Regions from separate parts of the Homo sapiens genome. Here region 2 is linked to region 1. Evidence: promoter capture Hi-C in 16 types of primary human blood cells and fetal thymus (Javierre and others, 2016). All regions are on one chromosome and are shown on one strand. Each heading gives the region's core, a stretch centred on a gene start or on the middle of the fragment in contact. The rest is flanking DNA. Distances are from core to core; before and after follow the strand shown.

Region 1 (2,890 bases), core at 121-2,620:
TCATCAGAGTGAACAGGGAACCTACAGAATGGGAGAAAATTTTTGCAGTCTATCCATTTGACAAAAGGCTAATATCCAGAATCTACAAAGAACTCAAACAAATTTACAAGAAAAAAAAAAAAACCCCAACAAAAAGTGGGCAAAGGATATGAAGACACTTCTCAAAAGAAGACATTTATGCGGCCAAGAAACATATGAAAAAAGCTCATCATCACTGGTCATTAGAGAAATGCAAATCAAAACTACAATGAGATACCATCTCATGCCAGTTAGAATGGCAATCATTAAAAAATCAGGAAACAACAGATGCTGGAGAGGATGTAGAGAAATGGGAATGTTTTCACACTGTTGGTGGGAGTGTAAACTAGTTCAACCATTGTGGAATACAGTGTGGCGATTCCTCAAGGATCTAGAACTAGAAATACCATTTGACCCAGCAATCCCATTACTGGTTATATACCCAAAGGATTATAAATCATGCTGCTATAAAGACACATGCACACTTATGTTTATTGCAGCACTGTTCACAATAGCAAAGACTTGGAACCAACCCAAATGCCCATCAATGATACACTGGATAAAGAAAATGTGGCATATATATACCATGGAATACCATGCAGCCATAAAAAAGGATGAGTTCATGTCCTTTGCAGGGACATGGATGAAGCTGGAAACCATCATTCTCAGCAAACTAACACAAGAACAGAAAGCCAAACAACGCATGTTCTCACTCATAGGTGGGAACTGAACAATGAGAACACATGGACACAGGTAGGGGAACATCATACACTGGGGTATGTCACGGGGTGGGGGGCAAGGGGAGGGATAGCATTAGGAGAAATATCTAATGTAGATGACAAGTTAATAGGTGCAGCACACCAACATGGCATATGTATACATATGTAACAAACCTGCACATTGTGCACATGTACCCTAGAACTTAAAGTATAATTTTAAAAAATCAGTTTTCTTTTGGCTTTTTCTTAGCTTTATACTTAAATATTTTTTTCTAATGTAATTAGAGTGGAATTGTTTTTTGAATTTTATTTTTGGATTACTCATAGCTAGTATATACAATTGCAATTGAATTTTATATTTTGATTTTGTATCTTTTCACCTTGCTGAACTCATTTATTTGTTCTAGTAGATTTTAGGAAATTCCTTACAGACTTTTACATATAAGTTTATGAAAGATGCAATAAAGGACTTTATCTTCTTTTCCAAAAAAAAAAAAAATTTGTGCACTTAGCTCAGAAAAAAGTAAACAAAAAATTAACACAGTTACAAATTAGGATTTTTAGTGCAGGGGAAGAAGTTGTCACCACGCCTCTAAGAGGAAGGGGAAGTCTCAGAAGTATTTTCAGTTTATGACAGAAGGGCAAAAACATTGACTGCCTCAAGGTCTCAAGCACCAGTCTTCACCGCGGAAAGCATGTTGTGGCTGTTCCAATCGCTCCTGTTTGTCTTCTGCTTTGGCCCAGGTAAATGTCAATCCAGATCGGTGTAGTCACTGAGTGACTCCCTGGTTTTGTGCAGCTTGCTCAACCTAAATCGTCTGTATACAGTTGTCTGGCTCTCTGCCAAGGGATTGGGGCGGGAAAGGGGACGCTGGCAGTGTTACCTGATATACTACTACCTCCTCTCAACTTTGGATGCGATAAGCCTGAGATGGTTGTCGGTGAACAATTTCAATTGTGTCTGCATGTAAGAAAGTTATTTGCTGGGGCAGAGGAAATAAGCTTTTGAAGACAAGACTGTTTGTGGTTTATGACCAGCATCTTGTGTTATAAAGAGTACCAAGACCAAGAAAATGGGCCCTCATACCAATGTATCTACTATCGTACTGTGAACCTCAGGGAGGTTACTTATCCTTCCTGAACCTCACTATCCTCATCTAAATTATTAAAAACCTATTATTCAGTTGAGCCAAATTTTCTGGGCCCAACCAAACACACCAAAAATAACCCTCTCACCTTTTGCTCATTGCAAAAAAAAAGGTTTCCATCTCTCCCCTCCTTTAGTGCAAATTAGGGCTAGCTAGTCCAGCAATGCATTATATATGGCAGTGAGAAAAGAATGAACTGATCCAGCTGGCTTCTTGTTTCCTGCTGTCCATTATATGGAGAAGATGAAGATTCATATCACATTTGGGGAACTACAAGTGGTCCACGGGAGACAAAGTGTAGCATTCAGGCAGAGATAGTCCAGGAGACCAATGGAAATCTAGTCCAGAGCTAGCCCAGGGTAGCAGATAAAAGTAGGAAGCATTCACTGAGCACTTATTGTATTTCAAGTATTGTGCCAGGTGCTGTACACACGTTATGAGTCTCATGAGAATTCTATGAATTTATACTATTAATATCTCCATTTTAAAATGAAGAACTGAGGTGAACTTAATTTAAATAATTTGCCCAAATTTCATTAGCCAGCATGCGACAAGCTCTTGTAATAGTTATGAGAAAAAATAACAGTTCAACAAGTGTGGCAGCAGCATAAGAGAAAGAAGAGACTGAAGCAAGAGATCCCATCAATATGGAGTTAAGTAGAGTAATTGGTAATTGGAATGAGAAAGGAATAAATATTCATTGAGCACCTACTGAATGCTTGGCACTCTTCTAGTTTGCATGAATACATCATGAACAAAGCAAGCAAAAATTCCTGCCCTCATGGAGTTAACATTTTAGCAGGAGACAAACTGTAAAAAAAGATAAACAAGTAAAATAGTGTATTGGGTAGGAAGAAATAAATCAAGAAGGAAAGGGAGAGATGAAATATGGTAAAGACGGCAGTGAAATTTCAGACAGGATAGCCAAAGAAAGTGACAAAATTGGAAGGTGGAGAGCAGCCACAGGAGGAAGGTGAGTTCAATTTTGGACCTACTGATTTTAGG
Region 2 (2,890 bases), core at 104-2,603, 82 kb before region 1:
AGTCATTTCTGACTTTATCTCACAGGGTTCCTTGGGGAGGGCTGCCAGTGGGATTGGGGAAGGGCCACAGGGAGAAGGAAACTTCCAGCTGAACTTTGTAATAATTTTGACTGAGTACGAATTGTCCTGGTCAGGATCTGTGGAGATGAATAGAAAGTGCAGATATGAGCACAGAAGCCACAGCAGGCAGGGAGGGGTGAGGCCTGAAAGCCCTGCTTGCCTTCTCAGCAGAGAGGCTAGTATCCCAGGGCAACATCCCAGCCCTGCATACCAGAGGCTTGGATATAAATTTGGCTCTTTGGGGAGCATGGCAGGAGTGAGACTGGCCTTGCTGGCTGTGTGGGAGTGGGGAGAGGCCTGTCACCACTGGCTTTCCCCCACTTCCCTGGCTACCTGTACAAAGCAGCAGAGGCAGCCATAATCCCCCTGGGAACATAACTCCATTGGCCTGAGAACCACACCCCCATACCGCACAGTTGCCACAGCAAGCCCTGTCCAAGGATAGTCTGAGCTCAGACATGCTCAACTCTGCCCCCACCTGATGGTCTTTTTCTGCCAGCCCTGGTAGCTGAAGACAAAAGACATAATCTTGTGGGAGCCCTATGGCCCTCCCATCACCTGAGAAACCCAAATACTTATCCAGGTGACCTTAGGGCAAGCTTGTATTCCCCCGTACTGCTGCAGCTGATGCTCTCTTGAAATCGCCACCTTCTGGCTGGAGGCCAATCAAGTCAAGCCATTATAGCAACTCATAACAAAATAGCCCTGCTCCAAGGAAGGAGAAAACAACAGCTAATTCCACCACTTGTAACGTCCTGGCTAACCAGAGGTCCTGAGTCTGTCCATGTGACAACTTCACTGTTAGCATAACCAGCATTTGAGAAAACCTGTGCACTAAACAAAACTACAACCAAGGACTCTCACAGAATCCACTTCACTGCCCTGCTACCTTCACTGGAGTAGGTGCTCGTATCCGTGGTTGAGAGACCTGAAAATAGATCACAACACAGGACTCTTTGCAGACACTCCCCAGTACCAGCCTGGAGCCTGGTAGGTCCACTAGGTGGCTAGACCCAGAAAAGCAATAACAATCACTGCAGTTCAGCTCTTGGGAAGCCCCATCTGTAGGGGAAAGGGGAGAGCACCACATCAAAGGATCACCCTGTGGGACAAAAGAATCTGAACAGCAGCCCTTGAGTCCTAGACCTTTCCTCTGACATAATTGACCCAAATGAGAAAGAACCAGAAAAACAATTCTGGCAATATAATTAAACAAAGTTCTATCACACCACCAAAAGATCACACTAGCTCACCAGTAATGGATTCAAACCAAGAAGAAATCTCTGAATTGCCAGAAAAAGAATTCAGAAGGTTGATTATTAAGCTACTCAAGTAGGCACCAGAGAAAGGTGAAAACCAACTTAAAGAAATTTTTAAAATAATACAAGATATGGACAAAAACACTGTAAAGAAATAGATATTATAAATAAAAAACAATAAGAACTTCTGGAAATAAAAGACATGCTTAGAGAAATGCAAAATACACTGAAAAGTTTTAACAATAGAATGGAACAAGTAGAAGAAAGAACCTCAGAGCTCAAAGACAATGCTATTGAATTAATCCAATCTAACACAGACAAAGAAAAAAGTTTTTTTTAATGAACAAAGCCTCCAGCCAATTTGGGATTATGTTAAATGACCAAACCTAAGAATAATTTGTGTTCCTGAGGAACTCAAAGAACACCCAGGAAATTCATTGCAAAAAGATAATTACCTAAACACACAGGTTTAGGTAATCTAAACCATCAGGTTATCTAAAGTCAAGATGAAGGAATGAATCTTAAGAGCTGTGAGGCAAAAGCATCAGGTATCCTATAAAGGAAAACCTATAAGATTAACAGCAGATTCCTCAGCAGAAATCCTACAAGCTAGAAGGGATTGGGGTCCTATCTTTCATATCCTTAAACTAAGTAATTATCCTTACTTTAGCCTCCTTAAAAGAATAATTATCAGCCAAGAATTTTGTATCTGGCAAAACTAAGCTTCATATATGAAGGGAAGATAAAGTCTTTTTCAGACAAGCAAATGCTGAATGTATCACTACCAAGAGAATTTGCCACTACAAAGTCAGCACTATAAGAACTGCTAAAAGGAATTCTAAATCTTGAAACAAAACCTCAAAATACACCAAAATAGAACCTTCTTAAAACATAAATCTCACAGGACCTATGAAACAATAACACAATGAAAAAAAAAACCAAGCAATTCAGGCAACAACTAGCACAATGAATAGAATAGTACCTCATATCTCAATACTGACATTAAAAGTAAATGGCCTAAATGCTCCACTTACAAGATCCAGAGTGTCAGAATGAATAAGAATTCACCAACCAAGTATCTGCTGTCTTTAAGAGACTTGCCTAACACATAAGGACTAACATAAACTTAAGGTAAAGGGGTGGAAAAATATATTGCATTCAAATGGACACAAAACTGAGCAGGAGTAACTATTCTTATATCAGACCAAACAGACTTTAAAGCAAGAATAGTTTTAAAAGACAAAGAGGGACAATCCATAACAATAAAAGGACTAGTCCAGCAGGAAAATATTACAATCCTAAATATATATGCATCTAACACTGGAGTTCCCAAATTTATAAGACAATCACTGCTAGATGTAAGAAATGAAATAGGAACACAATAATAGTGGGGGGCTTCAATACTGCACTGACAGAACTAGAAAGCATCAAGACAGAAAATAAAGAAACTATACCCTAGAATAAATGGACTTAACAAATACTTACAGCACATTCTACTCAACAACAACAAATATTTACAGCACATTCTACTCAACAGCTGTGAAATATATATTCTACTCATCAGAACATGG

The links. Contacts are between HindIII fragments. The CHiCAGO score rates a contact against its expected background, and 5 or more counts as called.
Region 2: a fragment that was not itself captured here is called in contact with the fragment with the promoter of SLAMF6 in region 1 in 10 of 17 cell types (activated CD4 T cells, total CD8 T cells, total CD4 T cells and 7 more); the score reaches 17.6 in activated CD4 T cells.

Annotation. Positions count from the first base shown.
Region 1 is chr1:160,521,735-160,524,624 of GRCh38, reverse strand. It overlaps SLAMF6 (SLAM family member 6), which reads left to right and starts at 1,370. Exons shown (of 8, transcript NM_001184714.2): 1 at 1,370-1,481. The coding sequence starts at 1,433. RefSeq lists an enhancer at 1,536-1,585. The HindIII fragment of the contact is 3,138 bases long and covers 1-1,741 here.
Region 2 is chr1:160,603,631-160,606,520 of GRCh38, reverse strand. No RefSeq gene overlaps it. Among named protein-coding and RNA genes, the nearest start is that of CD84, 26 kb to the right of the region's middle. The HindIII fragment of the contact is 1,383 bases long and covers 662-2,044 here.